Regions from separate parts of the Homo sapiens genome. Here all the other regions are linked to region 2. Evidence: promoter capture Hi-C in human tissues and cell types (Jung and others, 2019). All regions are on one chromosome and are shown on one strand. The core of a region is centred on a gene start or on the middle of the fragment in contact, and the rest is flanking DNA. Distances in the headings are between cores, read along the strand shown. Region 1 overlaps PSMF1 (proteasome inhibitor subunit 1). Region 2 holds the start of NSFL1C (NSFL1 cofactor). Region 3 overlaps LOC124904857 (a long non-coding RNA gene).

Region 1 (3,910 bases), core at 251-2,750, 330 kb after region 2:
TGAGTTGTTGACATAATACATCTATATACAACAGCCTTTGTCACTGTTGAATTCAAGATAATTCCACATACAGGTGTAAACATCCATGCTCTCCAGTGTACTCAGGCACCTACGCATGGAATACACATCATCATCTTATCAATTACTCTCTTTTTCTAATTTATGTTATAGTTAGGACTTTATACTGATTTCCTCTGAAATGTGCATGAGGTAAGTTAGAATACCTATGAATTCCATTTCAATATAGTAAGGGATATTTCACAGAATACTTGTTTTGAAATGGGCATTGGGTCTAATAAAGCTGAGAATTACTATTTACTTTAGGTCTAAAATTTTTTCCCAACTTGACTTCTGACCAGGGCTTATTCTTAAATCTTTCCACCATGGAAAGGTGGTTAGATCACATCTGTTTACATCACAGCCAGAGCACTGTGCAGGGAGTAAGGACACCTAGACCCCAGCCCTGGCTCTGCCTCTTTATTAGTGGCTGGCGAACTCAGGCAGGTCATCTTATCTCTATTCCCTTTGGTAAAATAAGATATATCAGACAAGCCATTTTCAACCTTTTCAACCACTTTTTCTTATTCTCCATTCTCTTCACAGGACTCAATATTTTTGGTAAAGATTTTGCCAAAGAGATACGCCAATCATTACTTGGAATAATTAAACTGATTTCCCATTTTTAGCTAACTAAAGGCATATAATTGCAAACCAGAATAAAATAACAATGGTAGTCTACATTTATTAAGTGCTTATTCATGTCCCTCACAGTGAACTCTGTCCCTTATCCCTACCAACAGTATGGTATCACAGTACGGGCTCCAAACTGAGAAGTGCTGTCTCAGCTAGAGACTAGGGTCCCCTGGTCCTTGTCTCCTCCCTCTGAGCAGAAGTCTCCAGTCCTAATGCTGCCATCCTAATCTGCAAAAACCTTGGAATGTGACTCACTCACATCCCATGCTATTTTGGAAAACTTCTGAACTTGATAGTGAGATTGGGGGACTACAATGAAATGAAATGGGCAAGACACTGGGACTGCATCTCCTCTGGGCTAGTACCTCTACATGTTTACATTTTCTCAGAAAGACTGGCCCAGGGCCCTGTCTAGACAAAAAGCTCTGGAATGAATTAGCTGTGAATTACCTGGGCAGCAACCTTAGACTACTGCACATAAGCCCCAGAGGCACTGATCCTTGGACAGACTCAGGGGCTCTGTGTGGCCCCTAGAAAGAAATCAGGCAGGCTTAGGATTTTGGGTAATTAGGGTGACTAGTAGCAGTTCAAGAACTCACTGCTCCACTTACGTCTCCACTTTCTAACTCCATGCACCCCAAGACACTGATCATTTTGTTGAAAACACATACGGGCCAGGGATGGGGTCAAGTGGCAGGATGGGGATAGCTGGCTGGAATCCCTCTACAGAAGCATGGGCTTCCCGCTAGGCACTCTGTACTCACCAGGGAGGCTGCCGACTGGTGTGTGGGTGGTGTGGAGGAATCCGGAGTGGGTCCACCTCTCTGGCGGTAGCAGGGGGGAACTCCCGGTGGGGACTGCTTACATTAGCCTTTTCCCACTGCTCATGGATAGGTGTGATGATTCCAGACACAATACGAGACCGAAGCTCCTCACTGTTCTTGTAGGTCCTGCAGGAAGCAGATGAAGAGTCAACTGCTTGCAGTTGGCTAGGAACCCTGGAAGTGGTATTCTGGCTGCAACGACGGCGGCGGCGGCGGCCCTGATAGCTCCTGGCATTGCGCTTGGCCTGTTTATAAGTGGGGGAACAGGCCGCCTGCTGGACCTGGGTGAGGGGGGCAACAGCCCCACGCTGTCTCTGAGATTTGGGCCCAAGCTTCTTAGGCATCTGAGTTGCCCCTCCTTGTTTACCACCCCATTAGAAAGAGGTGAGGGTGTAGGGGCACAGGGCCTGGATTGGCTACTCCTCTGTCCTCACCCGCCTCACCCCTCCCTCAGCTTCATTGTGTGTTCATCACGTGTCATGGGAAGGGTCATGGAAGGCAAAGGCTCCATGGGGAGGATGAACCAGGTTCCTGTTCCAGGCAGGCAGAGCTCTGGGGGTTCAAGGTCCAGTTCTGTCACTAACTCAGGGGTCCTCGGAAGGCTGCCCCTACCACCTGTCCCATCCTGCCTGGGCCTCTTTTTCTATGCCTGTGAGAGACAAGTGACGTGAGCCACAGCTGAGGTGTGGAGGCAGGCTGAGGTAACAGAGTGGGCAGGACTCCAGGCTTCCTAAAACACTGGTATTTTAAAATGAACCACATCCTGGCCCATAAAGCAAAGCTCACAAATGTAAAATAACTGAAATCATATAAAGTATGTTCTCCAACCATATGGAATCATAACAGAAATCAAAACAAAAAGTTAACTCTCTAAATACATGAAAATTAAGCAACATACTTCTAGAAAATCCTTGGATCAAAGTCACAAAAAAGAAATATATAGCACTGAATTAAAATGAAAATAAAAACATACGAAAATATGTGGGATATAACTAAAGGATTGCTGAGAAGAAACCTCATAGCACTAAATGCTTACATCAAAATAGAGGAAGGAATTCAAATCAATAACCAAAATTCTGACCTAAAGAACCTAGAAAAAGAAGAGCAAATTAACTCAAAGCAAGCAGAAGTAATAAAGGTAAGAACAGAAGTCAATAAAAAAGAAAAACAAGAGAGAAAATGAAACAAAGTCAATTCTTCAAAAAAAAAGAATAAAACTGACCAACTCCTGGCGAGACTGACAAATACAAAGAGAGGACACAGTCACCAATAACAAGAACGAAACAGGAGATATTACAATAGATCTGTAGCCACTGAAAGGATAATAAGAGAATACTAAGAACAACTTAATCCAACAACTCAGAATAGACCAATTCTTAAAAACCATAAACTACAACTCAGCCAAAATGAAATAGATAATCTGAATAGTTCCATTAAAGAAACTGAATTACACTTAACATTCTAAAAAAATAAAATAAAAAAACAAAAACCAAAAATCTCCAGGCTCAGATGATTTCAGGAAGAATTCTACCAAACATTCAAAGAAGAATTAACACCAATTTTACAGTCACTTCTAGAAAATATATGAGGAGGGAATACGTTCCAATCCATTTCATGAGACCAGTATTACTCTGGTATCAAAACCAGGCAAAGACTACACCAAAAAAAAAAAAAAAATATATATATATATACACATATATAGACTAGTATATCCTATGAACTTACACACAAAAAAAATCCTCAACAAAATATGAGCAAATTGAATTTAAAAATGTATAAAAAGAACTATATGCCATGACCAAGTATGATTTGTTCTAGGCATGCAAGACTGGTTAATAGTCACAAATCAATCAACGTAATCTACCATATCAATAAGCTATGGAAGAAAAATCATATGATCATATCAATTGATACAGAAAAAAGCTTTTGACAAAATCCAACATGATAAATCCATTCAAGATTAAAAACTCTCAACAAACTAAGAATAAAGGGGAACTTCTTTAACCTGATAAAGAACATTTACAAAAAACCTACCCCTAACAATATACTTTACTGTGAAAGACTGAATGCTTTGCTCCTAAGATTGGGAACGAGGAAAGCATATTCTTTCTCATCACTCTTATTTAACATAATATTGGACATCCTGACCACTGCAATAAGGCAAGAAAAACAAAAGGCATTCATATTAGCAAGTAAGGAATAAAACTGTCCCTATTTGCAAATGACATGATAGTCTACCCTGAAATTCCCAAGGAATCTACCAAAAAAAAAAAAAAACAAAAAAACCCTAAACACCTTGAATTCAGCAAGGTGACAGGATAGAAGAGTTCAACACAGGAAAATCAACTACATTTCTACACACTAACAATGAACATTTGAAAACCAAAACAAAG
Region 2 (4,373 bases), core at 734-3,233:
GGGACCCTCTGGCCGAACAAAGAGCTTTCCCTGATGGCACAAAAATGAAGAGGGGGGGTGACAATGAGTTTCAATGACTCCAATACCAGCCAGGGAACTGGACCTTGAGGAGCTGATCGCCTGCAGATCTTTAAGCTGGGGTTAGTCGTTGTCAGTTTCCAGGGTAGAAAGACCTTACTGGTTGCCAATCGTGAGGTCCAGAGTGAGCCTCTAGCTTCTTGGACTTCCTGGAAAGTTGGGGTGCATTTCGAGTTGACACAATGATGAAAGGGGTAAGTCCTAGGGACCGGGGCTGGTCCTGGGTGGCCTTGCAATAGAAAGGAGAGTCTCACACCACAAAGAAAGGACCCTCCTCCCATGCCTCCTGCCAGGGCCTATTGTGGCTGCAACCATGCTCCTAATAACCTAACCCAAGCCCTAACTCGTTTGTCATATAAACTTAAAGGATTTCTTGCACAGTGTTAATAAGACACCGAATTTTCCAGGAAAGCAACTATTGTGTCAATTGAGGGAAGACTGGACTTTGTGCTGTTCATAACCTGATTAAGAGGGGTTTTGACTAAGCCTGGGCACCTTCTCAAGGTCTCCTTGAGAAAGGGACACCTGAACTGAGAGCTGAAGAATGAGCAGGGGCCGACAGAGGAAGAGGAAGGGAAGAGTGTCCCACGGTGGTGTTGGAAATTAAAGCTCGAAGTCTCAAGGAAAACCAGCACTGAAATAAAAGATTTTTCAGCAAAGCCAATTTACTTCTGCAGAAGGGTGCCACTCACACATCTGGTCTTCAGGAAAGCACACCGAACAAAAGAGAGAAGGGGTTTTTATCCCTAATGCGGTTAGTCGCTGCTTCTGTGTCCTGTTCCCATTGGCTGGGGCTGGACTGCGCAATCTAAGCTAATCCCGATTGGCTAGTTCAAATGGAGCAGAAATGTGGGCTACAGTGGTAGGGCAAGCGGTTTCGGCAGGAAGAAGAGTTTCCGCGGGAATGGCAATTGTAGCGAGGGTATCCAAGGGAACAGATGTGAGTTATAGATTAGGACCCGCGGGAAGGTTGTTTACCGTAACTAGGGGTAAGGAGGTACAAAGAACAAGGAAGTTAGGCTTTGAAAATAGAGAACAAAGAACAAGTAAGCTGAACAAGTAAGTTCCTCTTTGGAGAGGCAAGAGGGCAAAGAAGCTGAGGACCCAGAAGACAGGATTGTGCCTAAGAAAGTGGCCTTGGAGCAGAGGCCCAAAGAAAGCGGGGAGAGCGCCTTGCCCATCGGTAAGGGAAAGGTGCTCCAGGCACAGAAGCAGCTAATGCAACGGCCCTGAGGCAAATGCAAGATAACTGGCAAGTTCCAGGAACAGCAAGGAGGGCAAGGCGCCTGGAGCAGAGGAAGCTAGCGGATCCCTTGATGAGAGGGAGGAACTGGCCCATCTCTCATGGGTCCTGCAGGCAGGCCATGAGACTGTCTTTTATGCGGGGCGAGATAACGAGGCATGGACGTGTTGTGAGCGGAGGCCTAGCCTGTTCAAGGTCTGAATTTTTACCCCTAGAATGTAAGAAGCATGGGAGCAGGGACTTTGTTTTGCTCCCTGCCATATCCACAGCCCTAGAAAAACGTCGGGCCATTGATAGCTCTCAGTAAATGCTTGACAAGTAAGTGAATGAACGAATGCACAATTAATGAAATGAGGGCTGCGTCAATGAATAACTGGGAATCTGACTCCTGCAGGGAGCCTTCAGCCCACAGGTGTATGTAAGACCCGCCCCGCCTCTCATCCTTCGGGCTCCCACCCCCGCCGTTAGGCTGCGGTTCGCGCCGCGGTCGCCAGAGGGCGCGGAGCGGCGGGGCTTCCCGCACGGAGGGCTTTGCGTGAGGCACCGCGTGGGGCGGGGCTGCGGGCGGGCTCCCAGCTGCTGGGCCCTCATCGGCTGGGCCTCGTCGACCGGCAAGCGGAACGCGGCAGCGGGGCTGGGCCTGTGCGGCGGCCGCCGGAGCGCTTTGGAAGGCGCACGGGGCGAAGATGGCGGCGGAGCGACAGGAGGCGCTGAGGGAGTTCGTGGCGGTGACGGGCGCCGAGGAGGACCGGGCCCGCTTCTTTCTCGAGTCGGCCGGCTGGGACTTGCAGGTAGCGCCGCGCGGCGGGCTGTGTCGGGTGGGCCGGGGACTGCTGGGAGCGGGCGCCTGGTGCCTTAAGCCCGCGGCGGCCGAAGCGCACAGTCATCCCCGCTCTACCGCGGCCCGACCCAGGCCTCATGGTCCCGGGACCGCTTGTCACGCGTCGCCTGCTCGGCTTGGGAGTGGGGGAACGCGGGCCAGCCCCAGCCAGTTCTGCCGTGCCAGTTTCACCCTGCCTCGCCCGCTTGCGGCGTCAGCGAGACTTCGGGCGCTGCGGCAGCCGGCGAGGAGAGGGAGCGCCTGGGGGCGTGGCTGCCGCGCCGAGTATCTGCTGGAGGCCGGGCTGGTCCGAGTGAGCAGCTCTTGGGTGAAGCCCCACTCGGGACTAGGTGGCCGCTCATTTCCACTTCCGAAGTCCAGCCCGGGAGTTGACCGCCGCCCAGCCTTCCTAATTGCTGGGAGAATACCTCTGGGGTGGTGGCGCAAGGTTGGAGCTTCTTCACCTTGCGTAGTTAACTTATCTGTAAAATGGGAGTCTCGTGGAAATTGCTGTGTAGTTCATTGGCACGTACTGAGTATTCACTAAATACTTGCTAAGAAGACTTAAGCTTCACGAGGCAGGGATTTTTGTACACTGATGAATTCCCAGTGCCTGGAACAATGCCTGGCACATAATAAGCATTCGGTAATTAACTGTAGAAAGAATTGCATAAATATTCTTGGCCAGCTTCGTCTTAGGTAGATGATGACGGTGATGACTAATATTTATTGAGTACCTACCATGAGCCAAGCGCTGTTCTGACTGCTTTACATGTCTTTTGTCATTTAACCTTCGCATTTTGCAGCTGAGATTAAAGAGGTTAAGTAACTTGCTCAAGGCCTCACTAGCTACCAGGCAGAAGAGGTAGAAGTGGAACCCAGTTCTGTCTGATTGCAAGCAGACAGAGCCCAAGCTTTAAACCACCATGTGCCAAGCACTTTACATAATATGATTCGTTGGATCCTAGCAACACTATGAGGTAAAGACTAGACCCATTTTATGGATGAGGAATTGGAAGCACAGAGGGCAAAGAATTTGCTCAGGGTCACATAGCCAGTAAGTAGCGGGGTTGGAATTTGAACTGAGTCTGCTGCCAAACGTAAATTACTCCCCAAACATAAGAATTCGGTAAAGCATCACACCTAGATCACACCTAGACACAATGGGAAGCCCCTATGCTGGGCAGAAATAAAAAGTTTCTACCTGAAAGACCTAAAAGCACACAGTGTTGTGACCAACAGATCTTCTGTCTCGTTCCCCTCACATTGTAGTGGGGAAACTGAGGATCATGCATGTGACTTGCCTGGCAGGAACAGGACTTGAATGTAGGCTCCCTGAGAATGCCAGTTCACTACATGGCCTGAGACAGCACACTGCCTCCCAGCAGATTACTTTTATCCCTTGACAGCTCACTGTCTCCTGTGAAGTTGGTGACCCTGAGGACAGAGGCCATGTCTATTTCATCTCTGTGACCTCAATGCTTTCTTGTGTTTGTGCAAAGCAAGTGATTAGTGAATGCCTGTCCGTTGAGTTGGTGACAGAGATGTCACAAATGACCAAAGGATTCCCATATTCCTTCTGTATGTGTAAACCTAAGATGCGAGTATGCATAAATCTTAATGGATTATCTCATCCAGTGTGCAGGTTGGTGAGACAGGTACCCCCATTTCACAGATTAGGAAACAACTTGAAAGAAAGGAAAAGTAGCAACCTGGACTGACTCCACAGTTCCTGACTCCGGGCTGTACTGGAAGCGCTTAAGAGTGAGGGCCTAAGCACACTAGCAGGGATGGAACCTGGCTCCTCTCTTTACCAGTTGTGTAAACTTGAACAAATTTTTTTTTAATCCTCAGTGCTTCTGTATCAACTATAAAATGAGATGATAAGAGTACTAATAGCATAGAGTTCTTGAGGATTAAACAAATTAACGTATGTAGAATGCTCAGAACAACCTGGCATGTAAATGCTCACTAAATGTGTGCTACTTTTACTAGATCACGTTTCTTCATAAAATGAGAATAAAGAGTGTCTTCCACCCCAGCCATTCTTACTGCCTTCTTTTCACCTTAGTGGGTGGAATTTGTTTCAGTTGACACGAAGACTAACAGCTGAGCTGTTAACCTTCTGGTCTAATTTTCTTTGGCCCATGGATGCAAGCTACCTTGTAAGTGTTGGCCATGTCTGTATTCCTTTGTGCTCAAAGGAGATGTGCGTTAGGTGAAGGCCTGTTT
Region 3 (4,453 bases), core at 1,899-4,398, 400 kb before region 2:
GATTTTGTCCATGTTATTCACTGCTATATCCCCAGAGCCTAGAACAATGCCTGGCACATACTAGGTGCTCAATAAAATAAATTGTTGCCTAAATAAAAATACCAGCAATGACCCCATCTCATCATCATCCCTCTGCAAGTCATTTTATTTTTTTTCCAGTTTTGGAAGTTGAGGCTCAGAGAAAGCAAGGAGCTTACCCATGGTCATGTAGCGAGTAAAGGGGCAGGGTGGGTGCCCAGCTCTCCTCAGGAAAGAAGGACTTACTGCCCAGCTATTGGTGGTGCAGCAAAGTCCCTGTTGGAGATTGCCCAGTTAAGGAGAGCAGTCTTGCCTGAGGTCATGTCCCCTCCCTGGGCAGCTCATATCTGATGACCGATTTATTCAGGCTCTAAAGGCCCAGCCCAAGCCACTGACCGCAGCCCCAGGCTCTGGTGGCAGTGGAGAGAGAAGCACAGCTTACTTACACCTGACAGCCCTAGGCAGAATGTTTTAGATGCCATATAAGTTGAATTATGTCTTCTCCCACCCGCACCAAATTCATATGTTGAAGCCCCAACCCCCAACACCTTAGCATGTGACTGTATTTGGAGATTGGGTCTTTAAAAAGGTAATTAATTACATGAGGTCATTGAGGGTGGATCTTAATTCAGTATGACTGGTGTCCTTTATAAGGACAACTTTATAAGAAGAGGAGATTAGGATGCAGACACACACAGAGGGAAGACCAGGTAAAGACACAGAAAGAAACAGCCATCTACAAGCCGAGGAGAGAGGCCTCAGAAGAAACCAGCCCTGCCAACACCTTGATCTTGGACTTCTAGCCCCCAGAATTGTGAGACAATAAACTTCTGTTGTTGAAGCACCAGAATATCCTGTGGCTCCGCATTGTGTGCAGAGGAAAAGCGAAAGTCCTTAGAGTGACCCCCAAGGCCCTGCCCTATCTTCTCTCTCTAGACCATAAGTTCCCTGGGAGACGGGTGCTTGTCTGTCTTCTATACTGTGTCTCCAGTATCTAGTGTAGTGTCAGAAACACAGCAAGTGCTCAATAAGTATTGATTGATTGGATTTGCAAAATGACCAGATGTACAAAGTCATTGTGATGCTTAAGTGAGGTTTTAATTGTGAAGCATCATGGCACAAAACAACAGAAATTTATTGTCTCACAATTCTGGGGGCTAGAAGTTCATGATCAAGGGGTCAGCAGGGTTGGTTTCTTTTGAAGCACCAGTATCACAGCCAATTGTGACACTTCGTTTTTTGTTTGTTTGTTTTTGTTTGTGTTTTGAGTTGGAGTCTCACTCTGTCTCCCAGGCTGGAGTGCAGTGGCATGATCTTGGCTCACTGCAACCTCCACCTCTTGGGTTCAAGCCATTCTTCTGCCTCAACCTCCCAAGTAGCTGGGATTACAGGCACCCGCCACCATGCCCTGCTAATTTTTGTATTTTTAGTAGAGAGGAGATTTCACCATGTTGGCCAGGCTAGTCTTGAATTCCTGACCTCAAGTGATCTACCCGCCTCAGTCTCCCAAAGTGCTGGGATTACAGTCATGAGCCACAGCGGCTGGTCGAGTGTGATACTTCGTTATGGCAGCGCTAGCAAATTAATCCAGTGCATTTGCTCATCCAGTCCTTACAAGATCTGCACAGTAAGTCTCATAATTACCCCATTCTGCAGATAAGGAAACAGGCTCAGAGAGGGACAGCGACTTGCCCAACATGACCCAGTTCAGCTCTGTTCTGACCCCAAAGCCAGAGGCAGCGTGCAGTCTAGTGAGAAGATGGGCTTTCACAAGCAAAACTGATGAAGCTGCCTTGGCCATCTGCCCTCATGACTGGGCAGTGCTGTGTGAGCTCAGAGGACCAAGGGCTCCATTTAGGGCAGTCAGCCAGGCTTCCTGCAGGAGGCAGAAGCCCCTGGGCCTTGCAGAGTAAGTACAATTTCGTTAAGGATAGTGAAACCACAGAATTCAGGGTAGACAGCTGCTGTTCAGGGGTGTGGAGGGAGGAATCCTCATGGCCTCCTTGGGTAGGTGCCTCAGTTGCTCATTTGGACAGAGCACAGGGTCCAAACTAGGTCATGGCCGGTCGGGGGAGGAGAGGAGGAAGTGAAGAATTGACGCCAGGTGAATCATCTGGCATGTGTAGTGTGAAGTTATCACATGAGACTGGATTTTAATGTTTTGGTTTTAGGACCCCTTTATACTCTTAAAAATTACTGTGGACCCCAAAGAATTTTGTTTATGTCAGTTTATCTATTGATAGTTACCATGTTAGGAATTAAAACATTTAAGAAACACACTTGGCCAGGTGTGGTGACTCATGCCTATAATCCCATCACTTCAGAAGGCTGAGGCAGGCAGATCACTTGAGGTCAGGAGTTCGAGACCAGCCTGGCCAACATGGTGAAACCCCATCTCTACTAAAAAAAATACAAAAACTAGCTGGGTGTGGTGGTGCGCACTGGTAGTCCCAGCTACTTGGGAGGATGAGGCAGGAGAACTGCTTGAATCTGGGAGGCAGAGGTTGCAGTGAGCTGATATCACACCACTGCACTTCAGCCTGGGCACAGAGTGAGATCTGAAATAAAAAAGAAAAAAGAAGAAGAAAGAAAGGAAAGGAAGGAAAGGAAAGGAGGAAAGAAAGAAAGAAAGAAAGAAAGAAAGAAAGAAAGAAAGAGAAAGAAAGAAAGAAAGAAAGAAAGAGAAAGAAAGAAAGAAAAGAAAAGAAAAGAAAAGAACACTCCATTAGTTGTCAAAGCGAGGTCATCTTCCTAACAATCTTCTAGTGTGTTACTATTATAATCCCATTTTACAGATGAGAAAACTGAGGTCCAGATAAGCTGAGTCATCCAAAGTCTCACAGCTACCATGTGAACTGAGCCAGGATTTGAACCCAGGCATTCTGCCTCCAGAGCCCAGGCTGTTAACTGCTGCATCATGCTGGACATGCTGCACCTGCCCCCATTCCTACCCCAGGTATGGAGTTTGGACATTATCCTAGGAGTCTTGGGCTAAATCCCTGGAGCCTGTCTATAGCCAGTAGAATGGGGTACAAGGAGTTAAGCTTTCCCGAGATGAGATTTCAAACCGTGAAAGGGATGCTTTACCCCAGAGGCACACCAGGCATCCCACACCCACCTCCACACAAGACAGGGGTGAGAAGTCTGCTCTCACAGCCAAAGCCTTTGAAATGTTATTTCCTGAAGTGTTGCCTCACCCCTACCACAGCTCAAAGCCTCTGGGACTGGGGCTCCCTCCAGGAAGCAGCTGGTCCCCATCCTTCCTCCTGCATAGAGCCTGGGACCAGCCAGGACCAGAGATAACTTAGCTCTCTGTAGGGTATAGGGCAGGATAAGTCCTGGCTAAAATCTGCCCTCCCACTGAAAGCCTTGCCCAGCCCACATGCACCTTGATTTAGCTCATTTTTACTGTATTTGCAGGGGACCTCCTGTGTGCCATGACGCTTCACAATCAGAACCTCGCTTAAGCCTCATGACAACTTTATGCATCTGGTCATTTTGCAAATCCAATCAATCAATACGGAGCACTTGCTATGTTCCTGATGCTAAACTAGATACCAGGGACACGGTGCAGAGGATGAAGACAGATAAGGACCCATCTCTTGGGGAACTTACCGTCTAGAGAGAGAAGACAGCCAGACGAGGAGAGAGGCAATCGTGGGCAGTGCAGGAGAACAGGAAACACAGGGGGCTTTGCAAGCACAGAATAGGGACTCAGTAAATATTCGTGGTTGAATGGAAAGCTCTTAGGATAATGGCTCTCAGGTAGCTCTCCAATGTGCCAGCCTATTGTGTTAGTTAGGGCAGGATAACTGCTGTTACAGACAACCCCCAAATCTCAGTGACTCATAATCTGTTTACTTGTCACTCAGGTCACAGTCCAGTGTAGGTCAACTCCTCATGGTCACTCAGAGACCCAGGTCCTTCCATCCAGGGGAGGGGATCTTGATTTCTTTTTTGATCTTCTGCATCCCCCGGCAGAGGAGAGGAAAAGACAGGGTGTGGAGGAGCATGGGGGAGGTTTTATGGGCAGGCCTGGAAGGGATTCATGGCCAATTCACCTGGTCTTGTGTGGGGGTGTAGGTAGTGACCTAGGAGTGAAGGAAGGAGCAGTGTCATGCCCAGCAGTTCCCCCAGGTGAATTCAATGGAGGAGAGGTGATTTTCCTAAACAATGAGGGTTACTTAGGAAGGGGGCATGGATTCTGGGTGGTCACAGCCTTCTAACCGGTATATATTCACTGCAGTATGCTAGTCAGGATTCTTTTAGCTTCAACTGATAAAAACCCAACTCAAACTACTTAAGGAAAAGAGGGAATGTATTGGTTCTGGTCTAGGAAGGTGGTTTCAGGAATGGCTGGATACAGGAACTCAACAGGGTCATCTTTTCTGGTTGGCTTTAGCCTCCAGGCAGGCTGTCAATGTGTGGTAGGGAA

Evidence for each region. The method cuts DNA at HindIII sites, captures the fragments that hold promoters and counts their contacts. A contact is called where the count stands out against the background at its distance.
Region 1: a contact is called between a fragment that was not itself captured here and the fragment with the promoter of NSFL1C in region 2, in 1 of the 25 tissues and cell types used here (mesenchymal stem cells).
Region 3: a fragment that was not itself captured here is called in contact with the fragment with the promoter of NSFL1C in region 2 in 1 of the 25 tissues and cell types used here (lymphoblastoid cells).

The regions. Positions count from the first base shown.
Region 1 is chr20:1,132,854-1,136,763 of GRCh38, reverse strand. It overlaps PSMF1 (proteasome inhibitor subunit 1), which reads right to left. Exons shown (of 7, transcript NM_006814.5): 4 at 1,458-1,643. Among named protein-coding and RNA genes, the nearest start is that of PSMF1, 16 kb to the right of the region's middle. The HindIII fragment of the contact is 4,599 bases long and covers 1-3,799 here.
Region 2 is chr20:1,464,459-1,468,831 of GRCh38, reverse strand. NSFL1C (NSFL1 cofactor) reads left to right here and starts at 1,983. Exons shown (of 9, transcript NM_016143.5): 1 at 1,983-2,112. The coding sequence starts at 2,008. RefSeq lists a silencer at 1,689-1,958 and an enhancer at 2,253-2,754. The HindIII fragment of the contact is 15,990 bases long and covers 1-2,883 here.
Region 3 is chr20:1,866,454-1,870,906 of GRCh38, reverse strand. It overlaps LOC124904857 (a long non-coding RNA gene), which reads left to right. Exons shown (of 3, transcript XR_007067496.1): 3 at 1-116. Among named protein-coding and RNA genes, the nearest start is that of SIRPA, 27 kb to the left of the region's middle. RefSeq lists an enhancer at 1-39. The HindIII fragment of the contact is 5,699 bases long and covers 299-4,453 here.